2 separate regions of the Homo sapiens genome follow, and region 1 is linked to region 2. Evidence: promoter capture Hi-C in human tissues and cell types (Jung and others, 2019). All regions are on one chromosome and are shown on one strand. The core of a region is centred on a gene start or on the middle of the fragment in contact, and the rest is flanking DNA. Distances in the headings are between cores, read along the strand shown. Region 1 has its middle 35 kb from the start of PPP1R2B. Region 2 holds the start of HAVCR1 (hepatitis A virus cellular receptor 1).

The links. Contacts are between HindIII fragments. The study calls those that stand out against the background at their distance.
Region 1: a contact is called between a fragment that was not itself captured here and the fragment with the promoter of HAVCR1 in region 2, in 3 of the 25 tissues and cell types used here (lymphoblastoid cells, neural progenitor cells and thymus).

Annotation. Positions count from the first base shown.
Region 1 is chr5:156,882,521-156,888,496 of GRCh38, forward strand. No RefSeq gene overlaps it. Among named protein-coding and RNA genes, the nearest start is that of PPP1R2B, 35 kb to the left of the region's middle. The HindIII fragment of the contact is 4,804 bases long and covers 1-4,065 here.
Region 2 is chr5:157,054,825-157,060,558 of GRCh38, forward strand. It overlaps HAVCR1 (hepatitis A virus cellular receptor 1), which reads right to left and starts at 4,292. Exons shown (of 9, transcript NM_001173393.3): 1 at 4,097-4,292; 2 at 3,074-3,131; 3 at 377-709. The coding sequence starts at 3,119. The HindIII fragment of the contact is 13,602 bases long and covers 1-5,734 here.

The DNA of each region.
Region 1 (5,976 bases), core at 414-2,913, 170 kb before region 2:
ATGCTATATGGTGGTAGCTAATCAGCATTTGTCCAACAAGAACTATTGAGCACCTACTGTATGCCAAGGAGACCAGATCCCCATAACTATAAATACTATGTAAGACTAGGTCTCCATTCTCCAAAACTCTCCATCTCATAAGACCCATCTTTAAAATATTCTACTTTTCCAGTGCCTCAATGACTCTTTCCCAAAACTGCAAGTCTGCCTTGAGTTCTAGCCTCTCTGTAAAGTTTTCCCTTACTTACACCTTACTCTGTGTTTTTGAACTCCAGCCATAAGTATCTCCTATGTCCAATACTTTGGGTGTGATTATACTGAGCGTATTTGTGGGTTTGGATAACGAAAACATTTTCTCCTGCAGTTATGAGAACAATCTTCTCCACCTTTTCTCCTAACCTCCAAGGTACCACTCAATCCTGCCCAAAGAGAGAACCCCAGCTCCAAGGCTACAGTAGTTCATTCAGAGATGGACTAGGATGGACTAGGACCCTAACAATCTCCTCCAGAGGTGGATGGTGGGAGGGTGGGTTCTGCTGGAACAGGTAAGGAAGACTGCCTTTTTTCTCTGCTGTGATGGTACTAGAAGGCTATGAGTTTGGGGTGGCCAATGACTCCACCAAATGTGCTCATGGGGACCAACAGAGTCTGCCTTCAGTGAGGGGGGAGACAGTGGAGAAGGAAGCAGGCTGAGAGCTGGGAGTCCTGATGGCTGTCCTAAGCCATGCATTCCACAGTACCTCTCATCCTTCCTAATTGCAGAAGCCAATAAATTCTTAATGTTTTGCTGACTGAGTTTCTGCCATTTACAACAGAAGGAGTCCTATCCCCTATAACAGCCTTCATCAAGTAGGCAATTATCTCTACCAAAAGACGACCAAGTCAGGGCCATTTGGTATCTCCACAACTCTTAGCTTGGCGCCAGTGTAGGAGACCAAAATAGGCTGCCCCAAAATATGAAGGGCTGTTGAGTTAACGACAATAAAGAGGAAGCAGGTGCAGGAGAGTTCTCTGCCCTCCCTCTGCCTGTTTAAAGGTAGAACATCAATTTAAAAGAAAAAAAGTGTCCCCTTCACCTGCCCCTTACACCAGGGAGAACAAAGTTAATCACCAACTTTGGTTCCTTTTCAGCCTGCAGATGGTACAAGCTTTACTAACAAGCCTTTATCTGCCTTTCCATAAGGTGCTGCCCCTAAAGACTCAAAGTTCTTTTCCTTCATCTCATCACTTCTCTAAAAATGTACTGCTCTTTGTTGAAGATGCTGTATAAACTAGAATTCAAAGCCACCACATCAAGAACAACTTATTCTCTGGGTGTCTCCCATGTATATATATGAAATATACATGTTACTAAACTTCTGTTTTTCTCTTGTTCATCGGCCTTTTGTTTCAGGGGATCCATTACAAACAAGAACCTGTGGGGTTGTTCTTCCCCTGCCCTAGGGAAATTCAGATCACTGGCACACTGGAAACTGACTGGTTGATGGACACATAGGTCCTTCACACTTTGCCTGGTCTGTTAGAGCTTCTCCCATAACCAGCTTCTGCCTGGGAAAAGAAACCTGGAAAGGGTCTGGTACAAAACCAAGATACTGTACCCTCTAATAGCTGTGATGTTGTCTTGGCCTGTACCTTGCTGTGTGATCTCAGATAAGTCCTCCTCAACTTCCCTATCTATAAAAGAAAATTGGCCTTCCTGAGCAAACTTCCATATTCTCCAATTCCTTGTGCTTAGGTTATGGTTCAATTCTTCCCAGAAAAGGAACATTTTTAGCCCATCATTTTGGGTCCAAGGTGACTGTTTTCATAGAGCATTATTTGATTTTGTTCTGGAAAAGTTAATATCTGAACCACACACAGAAGCAGGAGTCTGTTATTTACATCGCACTTCTCATTCCATCCTACACTTGGGCAAGCTCCACACACCAGACAAGGACAGGTTAAGGGGAATGAGAACACTTTGTTTTTTACTATGGTTATGTGTGTCCCATGAAAGACCTCAGGGACTTCTTGAAAAATGTAACAAGGAAATATGAAAAGATTTACAAATGTCTTAGAGGCTGGCATGACCTATAGGGAATTCCAAAGCTGGTGGAAAGTGTTATTTTCCTCTTTTCTATGAAAGCACCTTGTTAAAAATAAATAAAAACTGATCAAGAAGTTCTCTGGCGATGGGGCCAGGCATGGTGGCTCACGCCCGTAATCTCAGCACTTTGGGAGGCCAAGGCAGAAGGATCTCTTGAGCTCAGGAGTTCAAGACCAGCCCGGGTAACATAGCAAGACCTCATCTCTATGAAAAATTTTTTAAAAATTTAGCCAAGCATGGTGGTGCCTGCCTGTGGTCCCAGCTACTTGGGAGGTGGAGATGAGAAGATTGCCTGAGCTCAAGAGGTGGAGGCTGCAGTGAACTGTGCCTCCAGCCTGGGCAACAGAGCAAGACTCCATCTCTTTTAAAAACAAACAAAAACAAAACCCAGAACTTATCTGGCAATGGTTTCTTGTTTTCTGTCCTTAGCCCAATTTCTCACAAACCTATCACAGCTACAGTGCAGGTCAAGATCATCACAGTGTTTCTCAGCTGGGACACTATTAGCATTTTAAATGAGATAATTCTTCTTTGTGCTTCAATGTGCCTTGCATTGCAAGACATTTACTTTCCCCAATAAATGCCTGGAGCATAGTCCAACCTCACTGTGATATTCAGTCAAAACATACCCCCGTGCATTGCCAATAACCACGACAGGGTGCCAGTACCACCTCCTAATCATACTCTCTTTTTGTAAATGGGTTAAATAACATCCAGAGATGTGACATGACTTCCCCAAGATCACACAAACAAAAGGGTCAAGGCTAGATCTGAAGCTGCATATTTGGACATCCAGTCCTAGTGATCTTTATACTACCTTATTCCATCTATAATATCTGTGGGTTTTCATTCTACAGCTTGATACTGCTATAAAGCTTAGAACCAACTTACTAATATTAATACCAACCATTACCTCCCTATTATAATTTAACTGCACTTAATACATTCTTGCACTGAGCAACTTTTTTCATATTCATGAGGGTCTTCATTACCTTAAGTGGCCTCATCATGCTTGCATTTGTTCATGGACAAAGGATAGCACACTGGAATCCAAAAGCAGAGTTCTAATTCTTATCCATTGGCTCTAAAGGAGCAGAGAGGAGTTGATGGGAATTTACCCAGAAGGCAGAGATCAATTATATTCAGCAACTCAGAAAGCTACGTTGCCCAGAAAATCATAGCATTTCTGACATTTGGAGCCCTTCTGGATCAATGTTTATATTTTCTTCTGTGTTGCTCCTATTGGGTGACTCCACTACTAAGAGTAGGGTGAGTTTTTACCAGTAATAAAGTATCATGACTAAATATGCTGATCCCTTATCTGTTACAGCTCCCCAAATCCCATCCTGTTACTAAATTCTAGAGGAGGTGTGAAAAGAAAGATGCTATATTAGAGTTAGTGGTATTTGTATTACACTGTCCTGCTACGTTTAAGCCACTGGCAACAAGGACAAAAAAATCTGCCCGCACGTAATCTGGCTCTGACTCCACCTCACGCTCACGCACACCTGATCCATCAATATTGTGCAAAGGTGAAAAAGGACAGAGCCTTCAGGACTCTGTGTTCTCATGGTATTTTCAGAGCAATTCATGAACCTCTTTTAATGCATTTGCCTCCTCCAAGATGTGCTTCAGACAAGCCCACATGATCAATAATCAAGTGATGCCCCGTCACTTTTTCAGAGTTTTGGTAGACCAGCAGGCCTGGAGTTGCATTTTAATAGCAAGCCTCATAATCCAGGGAGTCTTTTTTTCTGCATAAGAATATTGTAGACACGAAAAATAGACTGCTTTAAAAGTTTAATATGATGTGAAAAGTTTGAGTACTGCTTAGCCAAAGGCATTTAAAGCAGTAAATACAATTGCAGGGAGACACTAATTTATGGCTAATGACCATCAGGGAAAAATGGGGAAAAAATGTGTATACCCCAGAGAAAATATGCGGTAATGGCAAAGTGGGTTTTTTTCCCCTCATTTTTAGCAGTGTTATTAGGAACTCATTAGGAGTCAATTAACATTTAATTTCTCTAAAATACCCAATTACAGTTTTGTTGTCCAGGAAAATAATGTTTAAAAATGTTTCTTCATATCATATGGGCTACTTCAAACAAAACTAAGTCTTTCCTCCCCACTTCCACCGCCACACACCAAAAGAGGGTCAGTTGTGGGTTTCAAGTTCCAAAAGCCCCTTTTCTATTTTTGAGAATAATCTTCCAGGGGAACCAGAGAAACTTGTCTGAGTCCTATAAAAATGCTGGCAGCTAAGCAGAATGCCCTCTTCATCTCCCCTCCTTTTGTAAAGCTGAGCGCTACCCAAAGTGTTTATCCAAATTTATTCTTCACCAAATATTTGTTGCCAACAAGGAAAAGGCACACAGAAATGTACTGTTAGCAAGGAGAGTAAAAAAAAAAAAAAAAATCTTTCATGAGAGAGGGGAAAATAAAGACCCTAAAAGATGCAATTATCGGGCATGCCTTAAAGCTAGTCATAACTATTTTAAATTACTTTGCATATAAATATCAGTTATCCCAATAGGAAAATGTAAAACCCAAAGAGAAGTGCCTAGCAATGATTGACTTATAAATCTGGCATTATTGTTGGTAGAGTTATGCAATAGAAAAATGCGTAGCACCCTACCCTATGTTCCCAATCCACCTTCAGTTCTCTCCTCTGAAGCACACGGGCAAAGTACAACTTTCTAGCGGTTAAAAACAACAACAATAACAATCAAAAACCAACAACAACAAGAAAACTTGGAAGCAAATCAAATAACTGCATCAGACCAAAAAAAAATCAATAAGACTGATCTTCAACTCAATTATTTCCTCTCTGAGGATGAATGTCTTTCACAATGAAGTATGTGTAAATACTCTATTGGTGTGTGTGTGTGTGTGTGTGTGTGTGTGTATAGTTCACTTGAACATAGCATCATCTCTCAGCTCATGCCACTATTTCATTCTTTTCCTCCCAAAGCCTCACCTCCATCTTCCAAGAGGTAGTAATAAGAAAATAATCAGAGAAAAGGTTGTTATCTTGTAGCAAACTGCAGATGGTAAAGGAGCAGTATATCTTATTTTGAAAAGCTTGCCAGAATGTGGACAGAAGGATTTTCAAAGCTTAATTCAATAAACTTCAATAAGCTGAGCTCCAGTGTTTTTTGACTAATTAATAAAGAAAAATGTCAACTCATCTGACCTCAAATAATCAAAATCCTCAAGCAAAAGAAAATCCTTTTTTATTCCCTTGACCCCAATTTTTAGTATGTAAACCAGCCCAGGGCAAAGCATGCCTTGTGCTACCAAACCTTTTTTTTTTTTTTTTTTTTTTAAATATACAAGGAGGACCACTGTTTAAATAAATATCAAGCTATATTATAAGAAACATCAGTATTGTAAGATTAAGGTCAGATGCAGTGGCACACGCCTATAATCTCAGCACTTTGGGAAGCCAAGGCAGGAGGACAGCCAGAGTCTAAGAGTTCAAGACCAGCCTGGGTGACATAGCGAGACCCTGTCTCTACAAAAGTGTAAAAAAACAAACAAAAAGAGTTGGGTGCAATGGTGTGTGCCTGTAGTCCCGGCTACTCTGGAGACTGAGGTGGGAGGATTGCTTGAGCCCAGGAGTTCAAGGTTGCAGTGACCTACAATGGTACCCCCGCACTCCAGCATGGGTGACGGAGCAAAAAAAATTAAAAAATAGAATTAAGCCAGATGCAGTGGCATGTAATCCCAGCCCTTTGGGAAGTTGAGGTGGGCAGATCACCTGAGGTCAGGAGGTCAAGATCAGCCTGGCCAACATGGTGAAACCCCCTCTCTACTAAAAATACAAAAATTCACTGGGCATGTGGCACATACCTGTAGTCCCAGCTACTTGGGAGGCTGAAGCAGGA
Region 2 (5,734 bases), core at 3,042-5,541:
TGTTATAAGTAATCTAGAGATGATTTAAAGCATATGGGACTATGTGCATAGTTTACATGCAAATACTACACCATTTTATATAGGGACTTGAGCATCTGCAGATTTTGGTATCAAGGGGGTCCTGGAAACAATTTCCCATAGATATCAAGGAACAATTGTACTGCTGTAGGAGCTAGTTTGCTGATTCTAGCCTGACCTTGAATTATGCTTGGCCTTGTAACTTCATCTACACAAAAGTTATTCTATTTCCCAAGAACAAGAGTTTATTTAAAAACAGGACTTACGGGAACCTCCTCTTTCCCTATTAAGAAAAAAGAAAATTACTACCGAACAGAAAATTCAATTAACTAGCAAGAAATATCAAAGAAAAACTTACGTGGCACAATCTCCAATGATACGGTGATTTTCATGTCATTGAACCACCCACGGTGCTCAACACGGCAACAATATACGCCACTGTCAGACACAGCTGTATTTTCTATGGTCAAAGAGACATCCCTTCTTGAAAGGTCCCCCAATAGCTTATAGCGTGTGTCCTTCCGATAGGTGACGTGGGTTCCATTGGTCCAGACAATGCCATTTTGGCATGTGAATAGAGAACATGAGCCTCTATTCCAGCACATGGATGTGACAGCTCCACTGTAGTGGCAGGGTAGTGTGACAGATGGACCTGCCTCTCCACCAACCTTTACAGAACCAGCTACAGAATCTGCAAAGAAGAAAAGACAAACTGAGAATGAGCCCTCACTATTTCATCTTGGCTGGGCACAATGGCTCACGCCTGTAATCCAAGAACTTTGGGAGACCAAGGCAGGCAGATCAACCCAGGTCAGGAGTTCAAGACCAGCCTAGCCAACATGGCAAAACCCGATCTCTACTAAAAAAAAAATTACAAAAATTAGCGGGGTGTAGTGGTGTAATCCCAGCTACTCAGGAGGCTAAGGCAGGGAGAAGTGCTTGAACCTGGGAGGCGGAGGTTGCAGCAAGCTGAGCTCGTGCCACTACACTCCAGCCTGGGTGACAGAGCAGACTCTGTCTCCCCCTCCCCCAAAAAAAAATTCTCTTAATTTTTTTTACTTGTTTTACTTTCTTTAAAAAAATATTTTATTCATTTTTTAATTGTTTATTTTTTATTTTTTTAAGACAGAGTCTTGCTCTGTCACCCAGGCTGTAGTGCAGTGGCGCAAAGATCTTGGCTCACTGCTACCCCCGCCTCCTGGGTTCAAGCAATTCTCATGCATCAGCCTCCCAAGTAGCTGGGATTACAGGCACATGCCACCACGCCCGGCTAATTTTTGTATTTTTAGTAGAGACAGGCTAGTCTTGAACTCCTGACCTCAAGTGATCCACCCACCTGAGCATCCCAAAGTGCTGGGATTACAGGCATGAGCCACCATGCCCAGCCTTGTAAATAGACATTATAGCTGGAAGGTTTTTCCCCTTTTTCCAAGTTAGCTGATATAGCTGGAATTTTTAAAATTTGAGATTATAAGCATTTTTCTATGCTAGCATTCTTTTAATTTTTTTTTTTAGACAAAGTCTTTCTAAAAAGAATTTCTTCTTTTTTTTTTTTGAGACAGAGTCTTGCTCTGTCGCCCAGGCTGGAGTGCAGTGGTGTGATCTCGGCTCACTGCAAGCTCCGCCTCCCAGGTTCACGCCATTCTCCCGCCTCAGCCTCCCCAGCAGCTGAGACTACAGGCACACGCCGCCACGCCCGGCTAATTTTTTTGTATTTTTAGTAGAGACGGGGTTTCACCATGTTAGCCAGGATGGTCTCGATTTCCTGACCTCGTGATCTGCCCGCCTTGGCCTCCCAAAGTGCTGGGATTACAGGTGTGAGCCACCACGCCCGGCCACCAAGAAATTCTTGTTTAATTTTGCCTAATACTAGTATCATTTTTTTGGATTACACATATAATGCATGCTATTACAATTTGGTTATAGAAGTATATAATGAGAGATTATTTTTCCCCCATAATCCCAAAGGCATATATCACTCCAGAAATTTGTGTTTAAAAATTAGGATATGTCTATTTTACTCTTTCCTTATCTCATAGAATGTTTTGAATTAAAGTGTTTATTTCAAAATAAAATACTTAGGCCAGATGTGGTGGCTAACGCCTATAATCCCAGCACTTTGGGAGACTGAGGTGGGAGAATCACTTGAGCCCAGGAGGTCGAGGTTGCAGTGAATCAAGATTGCCCAACTAGGCCAGGCGCGGTGACTCACGCCTATAATTCCAGCACTTTGGGAGGCCGAGGCAGGTGGATCACAAGGTCAGGAGTTCAAGATCAGCTTGGCCAAGATGGGGAAACCTTGTCTCTACTAAAAATACAAAAAAATTAGCTGGTAGTGGTGGCAGGTACCTGTAATCCCAGCTACTTGGGAGACTGAGGCAGAGAATTGCTTGAACCCAGGAGGCGGAGGCTGCAGTGAGCCGAGATCACGCCACTGAACTCTAGCCTGGGCGACAGAGTGAGACTCTGTCTCAAAAAAAAAAAGATTGCCCTACTGCACTCCAGAGTGAGACCTCATGAAGAGAGAGAGAGAGAGAGAGAGAGGAAAGAAAGAAAGAAAGAAAGAAAGAAAGAAAGAAAGAAAGAAAGAAAGAAAGAAAGAAAGAAAGAAAGAAAGAAAGAGAATTGAATGTGGCTGAAAAAAATCGGAAGGCACAAAAAAATACAATAAGGATTAACTCTCCCTCCACCTCCCACCCTCTGCCCCCATCCCACATTACCCACTGTCACTATTTCCTATATACATGTGTCTATGCATATACATCTAACCACACCCTTTTTGTTTAAACACAAAGGGCAGCCTGTGACACACTGTGCTGCATCTTGCCTTGTTCATTTAGCCATGAATGTTGTAATTCACAGCAGTTAAGCAATTTCTTTGGCCTAAAACTTTATTCTGGTCCTGCTCACTAGTTAACTCATAGCCATACAACGGTACCCAAAGAACATCTACATTAATCCACCACCACCATCCCCTCCCCTTCCCCTACCCCATTCTCTGGCTTCTAACCCCCCTCTACTCCCTTCTTCCCGCCCAGGGCACCTACTCACTTACCTGCCAGATGTAGGATGAGGCTTAAGATGACCACTTGAGGATGCATTATGGGATCAGCCTGAAGGAAAATGAGCAGACAGGCTGGTTGGTACCCTCCACCAGATGGTATCTGATCAAGTCTTAAATCTCAGATTGCAACTTATCTTTTCACCCAGTTGGTTGATTCATATGAGCCTGCTCTGCTGGAAATGAGAGAAGACCACATATAACGGCTTCAGAGCTCTGTTAGTTCCCTGCAGCTGAGAGCTCTGTGCCTTCCAAAGGACAGGGAAAGCTGTCCACAGAAACAGCCCCTGACTTCCCAGCTTCTTCCCCACACATAACCGCCAAACTGACTCCTGGTCCTGATACAGGGTATCAGGGGAACAAACAAAAAGGAAACAGGGCCGGGCGCGGTGGCTCAAACCTGTAATCCTAGCACTTTGGGAGGCCAAGGCGGGCAGATCACGAAGTCAGGAGATCGAGACCATCCTGGCTAAAAGGGTGAAACCCCGTCTCTACTAAAAATACAAAAAATTAGCCGGGCGTGGTCACTGGCGCCTGTAGTCCCAGCTACTCGGGAGGCTGAGGCAGGAGAATGGCGTGAACCCGCGGGAGGCGGAGCTTGCGGTGAGCCGAGATCGCGCCACTGCACTCCAGCCTGGGCGACAGAGCAAGACTCCGTCTCAAAAAACAAAACAAAAAAAAAGAAAAGAAAAGGAAACTGGAAGCAGAGAACCAGCGTGGCTCAATGGCAGCACGAGAGCAAATGCCAGCCTTCCAGTGGCAGAGATGCACTTGCTTTTCAGAGTAAACTGGGCCTCTGGTGGACGTGGAGCTTTTCCTACTCAGTGGCCACAACGACTTATCCCTAGCCTTAACAGTCATATTGCCAAGTTTGCCATTAGCAAGAGAAATTGAGAGTGAATGTGAATCACTGTGCCTAACCTTTCATGCTCCTGTACAACATGCTTCAGACTACACCTCCTTACCAAGGGACTTCAAGAGAATGCTTCAGGAAACAGAAGTCTGGAGCAGACTTACGTTCAGATCCAGGCTCTGTCACTCACAATGCTGGGTAACCCTGAGAGTTCCTGAGTTCTCTTCAAACCTCTATTTCCTCAGTTGTAAAATAGCACTAAAAATGCTTCCTCTATCTCCCACCAAGGATTGATATAATAAGCAAAAAGGGCCACGGAAGAACTTGGAAAACTAAACCTACATCATATGCAGTAATAGCACTAGCTGAGGTTTTTGGAGAATACTATATAGCAGGCTCTGTGTCAAGCACCCACATGCGTTAAATCGGGCTGTTGACTTCTGCTGTTAATCATTAAACCATACAAACATGAGTAAGCTTGCCTAGTACTTCATTAACTCCTCTTCTGGTCTAAGAATTCAGTAACTTCCAAGGAGGCAGTGGTGGTCTGTATCTTGCAGCTCATGACAGGGTTCATGGGGAAGTGGATGATCTCAGCATAGTGTTTTGTATGGCAGCGTTTAAAAATTCATTTCTTGACCGGGCATGGTGGCTCGTGCCTGTAACCCCAGCACTTTGGGAGGCCGAGTAGGCCAGTCACCTGAGGTCGGGAGTTCAAGACCAGCCTGGCTAACACGGTGAAACCCCGACTCTACTAAAAATACAAAAATTAGCTGGGGGTGGTGGCGGGCGCCTGTAATCCCAGCTACTTAGGAGGCTGAGGTAGAAGAATTGCTTGAACCTGGAAGGTGGAGGTTGCAGTGAGCCGAGATCAAGCCATTGCACTCTAGCCTGGACAACAAGAACAAAACTCCATCTCAAAAATAAAAATAAAAATTCATTTCTTGCCAGGCACAGTGGCTCACGCCTGTAATCCCAACACTTTGGGAGGCCAAGGCAAGTGGATCACCTGAGGTAAGGAGTTTGAGACCAACCTGGGCAACATAGCAAGACTCCCTCTCTGCAAAAAAAACGAACAAAAAATATAGTCAGGCCTTGTGTACCTGACCGTAGTCCCAGCTACTCAGGAGGCTGAGGCAGGAGGGTTGCTTGAGCCCAGCAGTTGGAGGCTATGATTGTGCCACTGCACACCAGCCGGGGTGACAGAGCAAGACCCTGTTTCTTAAGGAAAAAAAGATTGAAAAAAAAAAGCTAATTCAATTCAACCAGTTATTACTAACATATTGAGCTGATGGGACATGACTCAATATACTAGGGACGTCAAAAATCCAGACTTGTGCAATCGGGCAGGGACATGGGTAAGTAAGCAACTAATGAAATCAGGATAAGTGAGGTAAAGGTAAATATATAATCAGACTACATCATTCCCCCACTTATAACCCTCTCATAACTCTCTCAGAAAAATAATAATAATAATAATAATAATAATTCCTAAATCTTTACTCAAATTACTGAAGCCCTGGTGGTCTGGCCCTGACCTACCCCATAGATTTCTTCTACCACTCTCTCCCCTGCTGACTCAGCCCCAGCTACTAGAGCTTTCTTTCCAACTTGCCTCAACCCTAAGGCCTTTTCCGTGGCTGTGTTCTCCATCTAGCTCCCCAGCCCCACCATTTTCACTTTTTTCCTTTTCATTTTTATCCCGGCTTAAATATGACCTCCCTGGACATTTTTCACAGGTCCTTCAATCTAAAGTAGCCAACCAGTCCCTCTCACTATTATTATCTTGTTTTCCTTAATCC